Regions from separate parts of the Homo sapiens genome. Here regions 2 and 3 are each linked to region 1. The links are contacts of gene promoters, found by promoter capture Hi-C in blood cells and fetal thymus (Javierre and others, 2016). All regions are on one chromosome and are shown on one strand. The core of a region is centred on a gene start or on the middle of the fragment in contact, and the rest is flanking DNA. Distances in the headings are between cores, read along the strand shown.

What was found. Contacts are between HindIII fragments. The CHiCAGO score rates a contact against its expected background, and 5 or more counts as called.
Region 2: a contact is called between a fragment that was not itself captured here and the fragment with the promoter of RUFY3 in region 1, in 2 of 17 cell types (total B cells and non-activated CD4 T cells). The highest score is 7.6, in total B cells.
Region 3: a contact is called between a fragment that was not itself captured here and the fragment with the promoter of RUFY3 in region 1, in 2 of 17 cell types (M0 macrophages and fetal thymus). The highest score is 6.0, in M0 macrophages.

Annotation. Positions count from the first base shown.
Region 1 is chr4:70,719,520-70,724,508 of GRCh38, forward strand. RUFY3 (RUN and FYVE domain containing 3) reads left to right here and starts at 2,445. Exons shown (of 18, transcript NM_001037442.4): 1 at 2,445-3,232. The coding sequence starts at 3,055. The HindIII fragment of the contact is 24,519 bases long and covers 1-2,934 here.
Region 2 is chr4:70,958,134-70,963,122 of GRCh38, forward strand. MOB1B (MOB kinase activator 1B) reads left to right here. Exons shown (of 6, transcript NM_173468.4): 2 at 741-907. Among named protein-coding and RNA genes, the nearest start is that of DCK, 33 kb to the right of the region's middle. The HindIII fragment of the contact is 757 bases long and covers 2,201-2,957 here.
Region 3 is chr4:70,937,482-70,942,470 of GRCh38, forward strand. All of the region lies in intron 1 of MOB1B (MOB kinase activator 1B), which reads left to right. Among named protein-coding and RNA genes, the nearest start is that of MOB1B, 38 kb to the left of the region's middle. The HindIII fragment of the contact is 4,430 bases long and covers 619-4,989 here.

The DNA of each region.
Region 1 (4,989 bases), core at 1,195-3,694:
ATTCCTTGTTCTGTTTTAAGAACATATCAGTGATCTAGAGTTTTGATATCACACATACAGATAGCTAGGGCTGTTTGGAGTTGTGGTTCCAGGAATGTCCCATGTAATTTGAAGGTTTTAATGACTACTTACTATGTTTTGAAGTATTGCATGATATAAAGTGAATCTATAAACTGTCCCCTTATTAATATATAATATGGGAATATTTTTGGCTAGAAAGGAATTGAACTGAATTAAATGAGAATGTGTTAAATGAAGGCTTGTGTTCAGTATTTGGATATGAAAATTCTGTTTCCTGGAAAAGGTGTTTCTGTCTTACTGCTGCGTGCCTAGTGCCTGGATCACTACCTGGCATGTGGAGCACCTCTTAGTGAATATCTGTTGAATGAATGAATGAATGAATGGCTCTGAGTCTAGATGTAGGGTAATGATGAGAGAGAATGAGATAGAAATAAAACCAGGAGTATTTTGCTTTCCTTAGTAACTTACTGATTTTCCCCAATTATAAATAAGCCTATATATATGCCTTCTTACATTGTACCAGTATACCCTCCTTCTTTTTTTTATTTTGAGACAGGGTAGAGTGCAGTGGTATGATCTCGGCTCACTGCAGCCTCTGCCTCCTGGCCTCACGTGATTCTTCCACCTCAGTCTCCCAAGTAGCTAGGACCACATGTGCGCGCAACCATACCTTGCTAATTTTTGTTTTTGTAGAGATGGAGTTTTGCCATGTTGCCCAGGCTGGTTTCAAACTCCTGAGCTCAAGCCATTCACCTGCCTCAGCCTCCCAAAGTGCTGGGATTACAGGCACATGCCACCACATCTGACTAATTTTTGTATTTTTAGTAGAGATGAGGTTTCACCATGTTGGCCAGGCTGGTCTCGAACTCCTGACCTCAGGTGATTTGCCCGCCTTGGCCTCCCAAAGTGCTGGTATTATAGGCATGAGCCACCGCGCCCAGCCATCCGCCCTGTCTTCGTAACAATATGAAAATGCCAGTTTCTCTACAGAATTTGATTATTAGCATTTTTTTCTTTCAGTTCAGTCTCAAATTATGATGAAGCATTTGAGATTTTAACAATATTCAAGGAGAATTTTTTTAGTTTTCAGAAATTAGGTAAATCAAGATGTCCCTCTGATAACAATCCCTAGAAAGGAATAGTCTCAGGTCATATTTCTTGAATTTGTATGTTCCTCCTTAAAATTGGAACCCTTCAATACAAAAACAAACAAACACTTTCTTTCAATTGTCCAAAACATTTTCAAAGAAAATTCTTATTCTTCTCTTTGTAATTTATGTAGTTCATAAAGCAAGTACCTGCCCTTTTGCTACCAAGGTATAAATGCCTCATTGGATAATATAGGGCCGTGTGTGTGTGTGTGTGTGTGTGTGTGTGTGTGTGTGTGTGTGTGTATTAAGAAAATATAATTGTCTTCAGTATCTTATCGAATGGGAGGATTTTAAAAATATAACATGGTTTAATCTGCTTAGAAACATATTTCATGCTTAAGGCTGGGCATGGTGGCTCACGCCTGTAATCCCAGCACTTTGGGAGGCTGAGGTGGGAGGATCATGAGGTCAGAAGTTCAAGACCAGCCTGGCCAAGATGGTGAAACCCCGTCTCTACTAAAAATACAAAAATTAGCTGGGCGTGGTGGTGGGTGCCTGTAATCCCAGCTACTCGGGAGGCTGAGGCAGAGAATTGCTTGGACCTGGGAGCTGAGATCACGCCACTGCACTCCAGCCTGGGCTACAGAGCAAGACTCTGTCTCAAAAAAGAAAAAAGAAAAAAAAAGAAACGTATTTTATGCTTAATACAGAAACTTGATAAATACAACAAAATCAAAAAGGGGGGAAATTGCCATTAATTGGGAAAGATTTTACTTTTTTAACTTGAAGTTTTTTTTTTGCATTTCTGCCTAACCTAAAAGGTCAGGTTTTTGTACCTTGGAGAAGGAAATTATAAATGCCCAAGAATAAGATATTTAAATTGAAAATCTACTTTAGCTTTTCTTTTTATCTTTTTGTTTTTTTTCCCTCTGAGAACCTCAATTTTTTATGCTTTAGCTTTTCTTAAAACATAACATTTAGCATAGTAAAGAATTTTAATAGCTATGTAGATAAGAATGAAAGAGGTGAATTATATGCTTGTTAAATTAATCTAACTGCCTCTTTTACCATCTTTACTATAGATTATTATCCGGTATTAATTGTCATCCTTTTATTCAGTCCTTGATCCCAAAGTAAGAAGAATTGATGAGGATATGTGCATTGTGTTATGTCTGATCACAGTTTGACTAGCACAGTCTGGAAGTGGGTTGTACAGGATGAGAGAGAGAAGCCTAATTGCTCTCCCAGCATCAGCAGCATCTATAAAGCATCCTGGGAATTGCTTGCCCTACGTTCAGAGCAGCTGGTCACATGAGCCTGAATTTTCAGTTCAGTTCATTAGTCAGCCATTTTGGTCAACACCCTGCTTACTGCGCACGGCCAATCCTATGAGAACTCAGCATCCCAGCTCATCTGAGCAGATCCTGGAAGTGATTTCTGCAGCTCAGGATTTTTTTTTTAAGCTACATTGAAAATATAGGTTTATTTTTTGTTCAGGTTTTTCTTTTATATTTTTTTTCTGCACAAAGGAGGAGGATTTTTCACTTACTCATATCGAGGCCAGATTTTTAAAGCCAGCTAAGGCAGCATCAGCTGTGCGGGATTTAAAGCCTATAGCTCAGCTGAAAAAAAAGGTGGGGGGCAGGGAAGGGAAGATAAAAGGAGAGGAAGCTGGGAGAAGACAAGCATCATCTTATTTTGCTATGTGGTAGGAACTGTCTATAAGATAGTGTAGAATTGTTTATCTTGAGCAGTTTGTTCTTAACCTATAAGGTATTTTTCCTTTTTTTTTTTTTTAAACCTCCCCCACCCTTTTCCTGAAAGCTTTGTTTCAGAGCTTTGTATTGGGTTTTTTTGGTGAGGAGGTTGTATTTATTTTTTTGGTGTGTGTGTGTGAGTGTGTGTGTGTCTGTGTGTGTGTTGTGGTCCCAGCTGAGTCATCATGTCTGCTCTGACGCCTCCGACCGATATGCCAACCCCCACCACTGACAAGATCACACAGGCTGCCATGGAGACCATCTACCTTTGCAAATTCCGAGTGTCCATGGATGGAGAATGGCTCTGCCTGCGAGAGCTGGATGACATCTCACTTACACCTGACCCAGAGCCTACCCATGAAGGTATGGTCAGATCCTGTCCGCTAGTATTTCACCAGCATCCTCATTGTTATGGGGGAGGGCTGGGAGGATCAGGGAGAGGTAGAAAGAACCTACACTCTCAACTGTTAACAGTCCTGAAAACCTTGCATCCTTACTTACCACCCAGCTCCCCTTCTCTTGCTCATGGGGGAAAGATAATTTTTTTTCTTGCCCCTTTAGGTATCCTTTCAAAAGATGCTGGATACTCGTTTAGAGTTCTTTGTCTTTAAGCCTCTAAATAAAACATTTGAGGTCACTTATCACATCTGATTCTATTCAATAATGAGAAAGCTATTAATTTTGTTCATATATGAAAATGTTATAGAAATTGTAGTGATTTATAACACTAAGTTAAGACAACATGACTATAATTATAGGATTGTACATGATGAATACAGTAGAAACACCAGGGTATTTGGTAATGGTATCCTCACCATTATATGAGGATACAATTTTAAGCAAGTTATGACATCTAGGAAATGTTTGATAAAACATTTTTTTAACAATATGGATTATTAGGTTAGATGAGAAAATAACTTTTCAGCATTTATTTATTGAATATGGACTCCTAAGAAAGCATAATGCCTGGAAAGGTTAAATATGATTAATATGGCATCCCTATAGATTACAATAGAATGGTAATATTGGAATCTATTGGCCATTGCTTTTTATAAATTATTTGTGGTAACTATTATGATCCATTTGAGATTTCCACTGTCAGTACCTCTGAGATCTTTGTGGTCTCTTGACTTGCGACTTTTTTCCAGGACTCTTGCTAATTTATGAGAGGTTTTCTGCTTCTACCCTTTAATTCTCTTAATACCACAGAAAGAGAGCTGATTTGAATCATAGCTACAAATCGTTTTGTTTTTAATACAGTTGCTTCTTAGCTAAGGTTTATTCTCTGTCCTTATACTGATGAAAAAAAACAAAAAACGCTTGCATATGAGGAGAAATTCTTTATAAACATCTGCCTGATAGTTAGGCACATCGACAGGACAAAGAAGACCATAGGTGAATTGTACCTAGCAGATGGGGTTAGGAAAGGTGATTCTCTGCCTTTGACCTTGAGTTGAAATCTTATCATGACTCAGAATTTTCCCATTGTGTTTGATAAGCATTTTATCTTCCCAGTCAGCCTTAGCCTTGAGAAAGTTTTAGGGATGGTTAATAACACAGAACACAAAGCAGTCATTTTGGGTGTGTCTTTAAGAACAATGTTTAAGTGGTTTTTAAGACCCTTTGCATCTTTTAACAATTGGTTTGTTAATTAGACAGCTTTCTTTGGCTGTATGTTTCGTTATGTGCACAAGTTATAAGACATCAGCTGAAATTCCATGCAATGCCAGTACTATTTATTTTTTATTATTATTTTATTCTATATTTTCATCAAAACATCGTTACATCCAACAATTCCAGTACTACTTAAAACAGCCTCCAAAGCTTTAAAAGTCTTTAGGGAAGAAAAATACAGTTTTAGAAGGCTACCAAGAAGTCTTCTGGCAACTGCCTCAGTTTACATATTTTGTTTGAAAAAAATGTATTCCCGTCCAATTTGAGAGTTATACAATATGAAATATTCCCTTTATCATGAAATCTAGTTTACCAGTGTCTCAAAAATAATTTTTAACAATTTTAACACCTCAAATATATGTTTTTGGAGCAGGATTCCTATGGATAAGCAAAAGTGAGCTGTTTGGTTCATGTAAGCGTTTTTAGCAGCGCCATTTGAATTCTTC
Region 2 (4,989 bases), core at 1,329-3,828, 240 kb after region 1:
TTGGGTAGAAAAACATGTAGCTTTTCTTTTCTTTCTTTTTTTTTTTTTTGAGACGGAATCTCACTCTGCCGCCCAGGCTAGAGTGCAGTGGCACAATCTTGGGTCACCACAACCTCTGCCTCCCGAGTTCAAGCGATTCTCCTGCCTCAGCCTCCTGAGTGGCTGGGATTACAAGGACCCGCCACCATGCCTGGCTAATTTTTTTGCATTTTTAGTAGAGATGGGGTTTCGCCATGTTGACCAGGCTGGTCTCCAACTCCTGACCCTTGGGTAATCCGCCTACCTCTGCCTCAAAGTGCTGGGATTACAGGTGTGAGCCACTGTGCCTGGCTGAACATGTAGCTTTTTTTTCTTGTTCCAGGATTTTTATGTTTTATTGATATCAAATTGTATCTCTATATTTCTTTTAAGAAGGAAACAAATTTATTTTATTAGAATGAGAGACTTAGAATAGGAGTGAAAGGAATACAATAACTAAAACATCATGGAAGTACTTTTTTGTTTTTTCATTAATTTATTGAGAAGAGGTGTTAGTTACAGCTTAAAAATTTTTCTTTTTGTGAGTTAACTAGACACAGCAGAGAAAGTTTGTAGGAGTTTTGGATGGAGAGCACAGTAGTTACAGCAATTCTATTGCTGGGATTTAAGCCAATACAGTTTAGGTCTAATGCTTGGTGAATGACTCTATTGAATGTCATGCCTTAAATATTAAACCCTTTTTTTTTCTTTTCTATTCATAGTGGTAGTCGCTCTTCTAAAACTTTTAAACCAAAGAAGAACATTCCAGAGGGTTCTCACCAGTATGAGCTCTTAAAACACGCAGAAGCCACACTTGGCAGTGGCAACCTTCGGATGGCTGTCATGCTTCCTGAAGGGGAAGATCTCAATGAATGGGTTGCAGTTAACAGTAAGTAGCCTTTTTATTTCTCAGTAGCCTGTGAATTAGGGTAATAGCCTCATTGTTGGTGAGTGTTGGTGCTGTCCATTCTAGGATTTAGTTAGTAAGCTAATATCATAAAAGAGTGATATCTCAATCTAACTTTAACCTTCATGTTACTTTATTTACTTTATTATTATTACTTTTTGAGACAGGGTCTCACTCAGTCACCCAGGCTGGAAGGCTGGAGTACAGTGGCTCAGTTATGGCTGACTGCAGCCTTGAACTCCTGGGCTCAAGCAGTCCTCCCACCCTCAGCCTCTAGCGTAGCTGGGACTGTAGGCACATACCACCCTGCCTGGCTCATTTACAAACATGTTTTAGTAGAGATGGAGTTCTCACTATGTTGTCCAGGATTGTCTTGAACTCCTGACCTCAAGTGATCCTTCTATCTCAGCCTTTCACGGTGCTAGGATTACAGGCACTAGTCACCACATCCAGTCCTTGTTATTTTATTTCTGAATATGGAATTTTATGAAATCTTGTTTCCTATTTTAATACAAAGCATAGATTTACTATCTTCATTATAATAATTTTTCATGTGTCAAACACTGTATAGACATACCACTCTCCTTTCTACGTGGATGATTTTATTTTATCTTTATAACCTTATGATGTAGGTATGATTATTATTTCGGTTTAATAGATTAAGTTGAGACAATTAGTAACTTGCCTAGGTCATATAGCTATTAAATGGAAGAACCTGGGATCAAATATACAGCTATAGAATTTCAGAGTCTATAGAGTCAACCACTATACTAAATTGCCTTTCTCAGTGGCATACTCAGTTATTTGTCTAATTGTGCTTTTTTTATTTTTATTTTTATTTTGAGATCGACTCTTGCTCTGTCGCCCAGGCTGGAGTACCAGTGACATGATCTCGGCTCACTCCAACCTCTGCCTCCTGGGTTCAAGCGATTCTTCTGCCTCAGCCTCCTGAGTAGCTGGGATTATAGGCACGCACCACCATGTCCGGCTAATTTTTGTATTTTTAGTAGAGATGGGATTTCACCATGTTGGTCAGGCTGGTCTCGAACTCCTGACCTTGTGATCCACCCACTTCAGCTTCCCAAAGGGCTGGGATTACAGGTGTGAGCTACCACGCCCGGCCAGTTGTGCTTATTTTTTAAAAAAAGATATCAAGTAGTCATCTTATGAAATTAGTAAAATATATTTATGAGATGTTCTTAACTCCTACAGAGAATAACGTATGAATAGTAATTATATTCTTGGGAATTAAGCCAGAGAAAGTTGAGGAATAAAAGCTTCAGCGTTTTTCAACATTAGTGAAAAAAATAGTAATAATAGAATTTTATAATTAAAGGAAATTTATTTGAATTTAGTAAAAATAAAATGAAATTTCATTGAAAGCATACACAAAATGTCTAGGCTTTAAGGAAATGCAAAACAGTATTTTTCTTATATTTAATGGCCTCTTATTATAATTTGAACTATGTCATGGGATTTATAAATTGAGCTGCCCCCCTCTAATACCTTTTAGGAACCAGGGGATTTTATTGTGATGTCTTAAAACTTACCATGACAGCATTTACACAAGAGCCATGTTATTATTATGTGATTATCCTCCTGGACCAAGAGAGTCTAGTTATTTGAAATAAAGTGATTTGTTTGCTTTATTGATGAGGCCTGCCGTATTTCTAAGATGTTTCTGTGTCATCTCCAAGACAATATTCAGAATGAATCTCCAATATATGTGTACGTTCTTTTTGTACTAATTTGTGCCTTTTTGTAAAATTTGAGAGTTCATTTACTCATGTTTAAAATGTAAGGAAGGCTGTATAGAGCTTCTATATTACAGTAGAGTCTGACTTTTAAATATAAAAGCAAATAATTTTCTGTCTGTATTCTGTCTCTTTCTCAGTTGCCACAACTGAGTGTCTGTACCTCTCTTATCTGCTAGGGATACATTCCAAGATGACCAGTGGATTCCTGAAACCGGTGATAGTACTGAACCTTCTGTACACTGTGTTTTTTCCTATACACTACGTACCTATGATAAAGCTTAATTCATAAAGCTTAATTTAAAATTTATTAAAGATTAATTTAAAATTAAGCACAGCAAGGGATTAACAACTGTTAATAAAATAGAACAATTACAGTTATACTGTAGTAAAAGTTATGTGAATATAGTCTCTCTCTTTCAAAATAATCTTATTGTGCTTTACTTAACCCTTTTTGTAATCCTTCACTCTGATAACCAAGGTGGCTACTATAGGTGATTAATGAGCAGGTATACAGCTAGACAGAGGGATGATTCACATCCCAAGCGGACGGAGTGAGATGGTGTGAGATGCTGTAAAATTTCATCACGTTACTCAGAATGGCACACAATTTAAAACTTATATATTGTTTATTTCTGAAATTTTCCATTTAATATTTTCAGCCCATGGTTCATCACAGATAACTGAAACCATGGATAGTGAAACCACAGATAAAGGAGGACTACTGTACTACTGAAACGCCTAGAACTTTGAGAACTCTTAAAATTTCACAGTAGTTCTATGATTTTACTACAGCTGGACAAAGATTGCTTTGGACTGAAGCATTAGAACATCTGCTTAGGGCATACTCTGCTTTGAAAATACAACATTTAACTGAAGTGTTGGATTTAAAATTTTCCTTATTTATAGCAATCTTCCCAAATGACACTTGATGAAGTAGGTGAATAGGGTTGGAGTCAGGACAGATACTTCCAGTCACTGGCAGTGATTCAGTAAACATTTCAGGTTCATAGAGGAGTAAAGGGAATTATTGATAAGATCTATATCCAAATAATAGGTGAAAGTGTAATTACTTAGCTAATACAGGAGAAAAATAGAATAATAAAAAATAATCCTGAAGAATATAAGGAGAGACTAGGTGCATTGGCTCACGCTATAATCCCAGCATTTTGGGAGGCTGAGGTGGGAGGATTGTTTGAGGCCAGGAGTTTGTGACTAGCCTGGGCAAAATCTGTATCTACAAAAATATAAAATAAAATAAATTAGCTGGGAGTGGTGGTTCACACCTGTAGTCCTAGCTACTCCAGAGGCTGAGGTGGGAGGATGGCTCGAGCCCAGGAGTTCGAGGTTAGCCTGGGCAGCATAGGGAGACCTCTTCTCTAAACAAATAAAATAAAAATTTACCTACCAAGGACTCTTGCATTCATCACTGTAGTTGAGATCTCTCCCCAGGCTTCACGAATTAGTCAAAACTCTACCTGATAACACTATTTTGATGTCTAAATTGATCTCAAAGTGAATATGTTCAAAATGGAACACAGAAAAATCTATTTGAATTTATGAAAGAGACCAGTGGTCCATATAAATAGGCAGCTGATCTTGACAAAGAAGAAAAGGCAATTCAGTGGAGAAAGTATTATTTTTTCAACAAATAGTGGTGAAACACTGGGACATCCAGATGCAGAAATATAAATCTAGACACAGATTTACACCTTTCAGAAAAATTAGCATGAATTGAATGATAGACCTAAAAATACAACACAATACTATAAAACTTCTAGGAAAAAAAAAACAGGAGAAAAATCTGTGCAACCTTGGATTTGGTGATGAGTTTCTACATACAAAACCAAAAGTGTGCTTTTAAAAGAAAAAATTAATAAATTAGACCTCATGAAAATTTAAGAGGCCGGGCACGGTGGCTCACGTCTGTAATCCCAGCATTTTGGGAGGCCACGGTGGGTGGATCACTTGAGCTCAGGAGTTCAAGACCATCCTGGCCAACATGATGAAACCCCATCTCTACTAAAAATACAAATAAAAAATTAGCCAGGCATGGTGGTGTATCCCTGTAGTCCCAGCTACTTGGCAGGCTGAGGCATGAGAATTGCTGGAGCCTGGGAAGTGGAAGTTGCAGTGAGACAAGATCGTGGCACTGCATTCCAGCCTGGGTGACAGAGCGAGACTCTGTCTCCAACAAAAAAAGAGAAAGAAAATTTAAAATTCTGCTCTGTGAAAGACATTGTAAAGAAAATAAAAAATGAAGCCACTGGCTAGCAGAAAATCTTTGCAGACCACATATATGGTAAAGGA
Region 3 (4,989 bases), core at 1,584-4,083, 220 kb after region 1:
TGGTCCTTAATTTTTTTTTTCTCGTTTCCCATCTGTTTTTTTTTCTTTGAGATGGAGTCTCACTTTGTCACCCAGGCCGGAATGCAGTGGTGTGATCTCGGCTCACTGCAATCTCTGCCTCCCAAGTTCAAGTGATTCTCATGTCTCAGTCTCCCAAGTAGCTGGGACTACAGGCACGAGCCACCACACCCAGCTAATTTTTTATATTTTTAGTAAGGGGAAATTTTTAGTAAGGGGTCTTCCCATGTTGGCCAGGCTGGTCTTGAACTCCTGACCTCAGGCCGTCTGCCTGGCTTGGCCTCCCAAGGTGCTGAGATTACAGGCGTGAGCCACCGTGCCCGGCCCATCTCTTTGTTTTTGTACTTTATGTTTTAGGAGATTACGTCAGTTTTATTTTCTATTCCTTGTATTTTTAATTTCTGCAATCATTTTTTAAAAAATTTCTAGAGTCCTATTTAATTTCTTCTTTTTTTAATGTGGTGTTCTGTTCTCAGTTCATGAAGCATTCTTTTTTTCCTATCGCTAAAGATTTTTATTGATAGTTTTTGGGCTTTTTTGAACATTTAGTTTGTCCTCCAAGTTACTTTTTTCGATTTTGGTGTCGTCTCTCATGTTAGAAGCTTCCTTCCAGTGTCTGGTAACTCTTTTGCTTTCTGCTTTTATTTATAAGTAGGGCAATTAAAAAGCTAATTGGATTTCTGTGTGCATGAGTGTGGAGGGTTTATCAACTGTGGGCTTTGCTGAAGGATGATATAGCTAGGTTATTTCCTTGAAGAACTCCTGGTATGATTATCTTTTCAGGTCCTTATACATGGTGTGGTCAGATTTGCCGCCCCCGCCCCCCCCCCCCCCCAAAAAAAAAAAAAAAGAGCTTTTCAGTCTTTGTTTGGAGGTTATTATCTCTGGTTGCAAGGTTTCTGGTTAGGGGAATAGGCTAGGGGTCTCGACATGATTATTCAGATTCACTTTATCTCCATGTGTTAAGTATGGTAAACTTGCCTGCAACTATACCTGTGTCTCTTAAGCCAGAGACCTTCTGTTTTGCCCTCTCCATAGAATAAACCTTTAGCTTTCAGTTTTTCCTCAGGGTTGGGGTGGTACAGAAGCCCACTGTGTAGATTGTTTAGGGGTTCTGGAGGTATAACTGCTTTTTAAACAGAGTGGTAAAAATCCTGTTGTATTTTTACTTGCACCTCCAGAGTATTCTACATCTAGAGGCGTCACTAATTCCTAAATCCCTAAATCTTTTGTGGGATCTATGATGTAAATTGGATTGGTTTTAATTTTAGGATTGGGTTTTTTTTTTTTTTTTGGAGATGGAGTTTTGCTCTTGTTGCCCAGGCTGGAGTGCAATGGCATAGTCTTGGCTCACCACAGCCTCTACCTCCCGGGTGCAAGCGATCCTCCTGCCTTAGCCTCCCAGGTAGCTGGGATTACAGGCACCTGCCAGCACCTCGACCTCCCAAAGTGCTGGGATAATAGGCATGAGCCACTGAGCCTGGCCCCTTGCAGTTCAAATTTGGATTCATCTGTTTTCTTGCAAAAATGAGAGCTGCTGAACAGTCAAAGTTGGAAAAAGGAAATATCAAATTTGTTGAAAAAAGATTTTAAGAATATCTACTAATACACTGCAGTGATTCAACACAATAACACAATTTCCTTTCACTTAGACACAACACAATTGCAAATGCTTAACAGAACAATAAAATGGTTTAGTACTTACAAGAAAACTATTGAAGATGTTGGGCTGAAAACATACACTAGCCTCCACTTCCTACTCAAAGTCACAATAAAGTGAAGTTTTTTAAATCATAATCTCATAGAAATAAAAAGAATGAAAGAGAAAACAACTAAATTTTGGAAATTATAAAGTAGATGAATAACTGATTTAATGTCCCTAAGAAAACCCAATCCTAGTCTGGGTGCAGTAGTTCACACCTGTAATCTCACACCCGTAATCACAGGCCAAGGTGGGCGGATCACCTGAGGTCAGGAGTTCAAGACCAGCCTGGCCAACGTGGCAAAACCCCATCTCTACTAAAAATACAAAATTATCCAGGCATGGTGGCGCACACCTGCAATCCCAGCTACTCAAGAGGCTGAGGCTGGGAGGATCTCTTGAATGTGGTGAAACGGGAAAGGTTCCCTTGTCCCCCTTAAAGGGTGTGCGGTCGGGGGTGTGGCTCGCTTCTTTGGTGTCCTGCTGCTCAAACCTCTACAGGGAGTGTGCAGTGCTGAAGCCCCAGTGGGCGTGTGTTACCCGGTGCTCTTTTAGTTTACCCATCAGCTCATTGAGACCTCTTGCCTAACAAGGACAGAGAGTTTTTTGTATCCCGGAGTTCTTGCCTTGGTGTACAGAAGAATTGGATCACAGGTGGACTTGGAGAAAGAATGCAAGGTTTTATTGAGCGGAAGTAGCTCTCAGAAGATGGAGGAGCCAGGGGGAGATGATTTTCCCCTGGAGTCTGGCCACTGTGTGGCCCAGTGTCTCCTCCGACTGCCCTAGCCCGTCTCTGCATCTTTCCGTTGGTTTATGGCCTGCCCAGTGCCAGCATCTGTTGGTTTGCTGTCCTGCCGGTGTGCTCCACTCGATGTCCTCTTGACCTCCAGCCGCTTTTGTCTTCTTCCGCTGATGTGTTCCTCTCCACGTCCAGCCGCTTGTGTCTCTCCTGTTAGGGTCTCGGGGGTTTTTATAGGCACAGGATGGGGCCATGGTGGGCCAGGGTGGTCTTGAGAAATGCAGCATTTGGGCATAAAGGCAGGAGTGCCTGTCCTCACCTAGGTCCATGGGCACAGGCCCAGCCCTCTCCAGAGACCCACCTTCCTCTGTCTACCCAGCACTTTTCTGCCTCCCTTCTATACCACTAGGAGGTGGAGGTTGCAGTGAGCTAAGATCGCACCACTGCACTCTAGCCTGGGTGAGAGCAGAGCGAGACCCCATGTCAGAAAACAACACAAACCACCAAATTTGAACTGCAAGGAATATCTGTTATGTGTTTTCCTAGCTTCCCACAGTGCTTAACATGGTGGTGACTTGCCCGTATTAGGTATCCTAGAGGATTAAAGATGAATCTCTGTCCATGTATCAACATTGTTATCAGTTAAATGTCTCTAAAATCTGATTCCGAATGGATGAACAATTTTCCTTTCGTTTTTGTTTTCAGGTTAATAATAAAAATAATATTAGGGCATTAATTTTTTTTTTTTTTTTTGAGACAGAGTTTCGCTCTGGTTGCCCAGACTGGAGTGCAATGGCGCAATCTCAGCTCACAGCAACCTCCACCTCCCAGGTTCAAGCAATTCTCCTGCCTCAGCCTCCCGAGTAGCTGGGATTACAGGCATGCACCACCACGCCCGGCTAATTTTGTATTTTTAGTAGAGACAGGGTTTCTCCATGTTGAGGCTGGTATCGAACTCCTGACCTCAGGTGATCCGCCCGCCTCGGCCTCTCAAAGTGCTGGGATTACAGGCGTGAGCCACCACGCCCGGCCCGGCATTAAATATTAATTGGTCTTTTAATGTATCTCAGCTTTGAATTTAGGATTTGATTAACCAAATTTAACTGTAGTATTTTGTCTTACTATGACTGCAGAAGTAGACAACTCTTGCCACATGTACATTGTCTGATTTTCTCTTTATTTGTATCTGGCTATCATATCTCTCTTGGCTACTTTGGCTCTTTTTTTTTTTTTTTCTTTTCTATGCCATACACACACAGTAGTAGTGGCTGTTTCTTAACAGGTTGATTTGAATTTCCAGGTGCCCCTTTAGACATGAAATATGTTCTCAGTACTATACTCTAATTTCTGCTTACTTCTTTGTCACTTTTATCTGCTGCAACTTAAGAAATTTGTTTTATTTTATTTATTTATTTTTTTGAGACGGAGTCTCGCTCTGTTGCCCAGGCTGGAGTGCAATGTGGTGATCTCGGCTCACTGAAAGCTCCGCCTCCTGGGTTCACGCCATTCTCCTGCCTCAGCCTCCCAAGTAGCTGGGACTATAGGTGCCCGTTACCACGCCCGCCTAATTTTTTGTATTTTTGGTAGAGACGGGGTTTCACTGTGTTGGCCAGGATGGTCTCGATCTCCTGACCTTGTGATCCGCCCGTCTCGGCCTCCCAAAGTGCTGGGATTACAGGTGTGAGCTACCGTGCCCAGTCAAGAAATTTCTTCCTTCTTTCCCTTACTCTGTTCCATCCTTCCTTGTGACATTTCTCTTTGGTATCTTTCTTTTCAGAGAAACTTTGGTATCTTTCTTTTCAGAGAAAATTAACATTCGAACATTCAAATGCTAATTTAATCTTTTAAAGTAAAGCTAATTACTGAGATCACATGCTTGGTATTTTTAATTTTATCATTATGGTAAAACTGGACCGAGATACTTCAATATCTGTCAGAAGAACAGATGATTTGATGGTAACCCTGTATAAGAATTTTGTTTCTAAATTTCTTAAACCTCTTGATTAGAATGTTTTAATAGTTGTGAAAGGCTTTAGTAAGTTTTATAATTTAATATTATTATCAATCTTAGCTAATATTTCAGATTATTCAGATTATGCATCAGAAGTATGCTTTGGCAACTCTCATTTAAATCCTCAATGTCTTTGACCTTAATTACACATTGGTTAAAATTGACCTCCAAACCAGGAATGATTCTTATTTTATTAAAAACGAAAAATCCTAAGAAGCAAACACTCAAATCAGCTGCATTTGAAGTTAGATTTATAGGAGAAAATAGTTTATAACTTTTGTGTACATATTACCAATATCTTCTAGTGGTAATATTAAAGTGGTCTATTAAAGTGGAATTGCCATTTAATATTCTAGTGGTCTATTAAATATTTAATATTTAATATTTAATATTCTAGTGGTCTATTAAAGTGGAATTGCCATTTAATAAGTAAAGTTATTTCCTAGTACACTTTATCAGTTTTTATAGGCATTAGCATGGATTTCTTTATTTTTTTAAGAATGAATTTAATGCATTGAA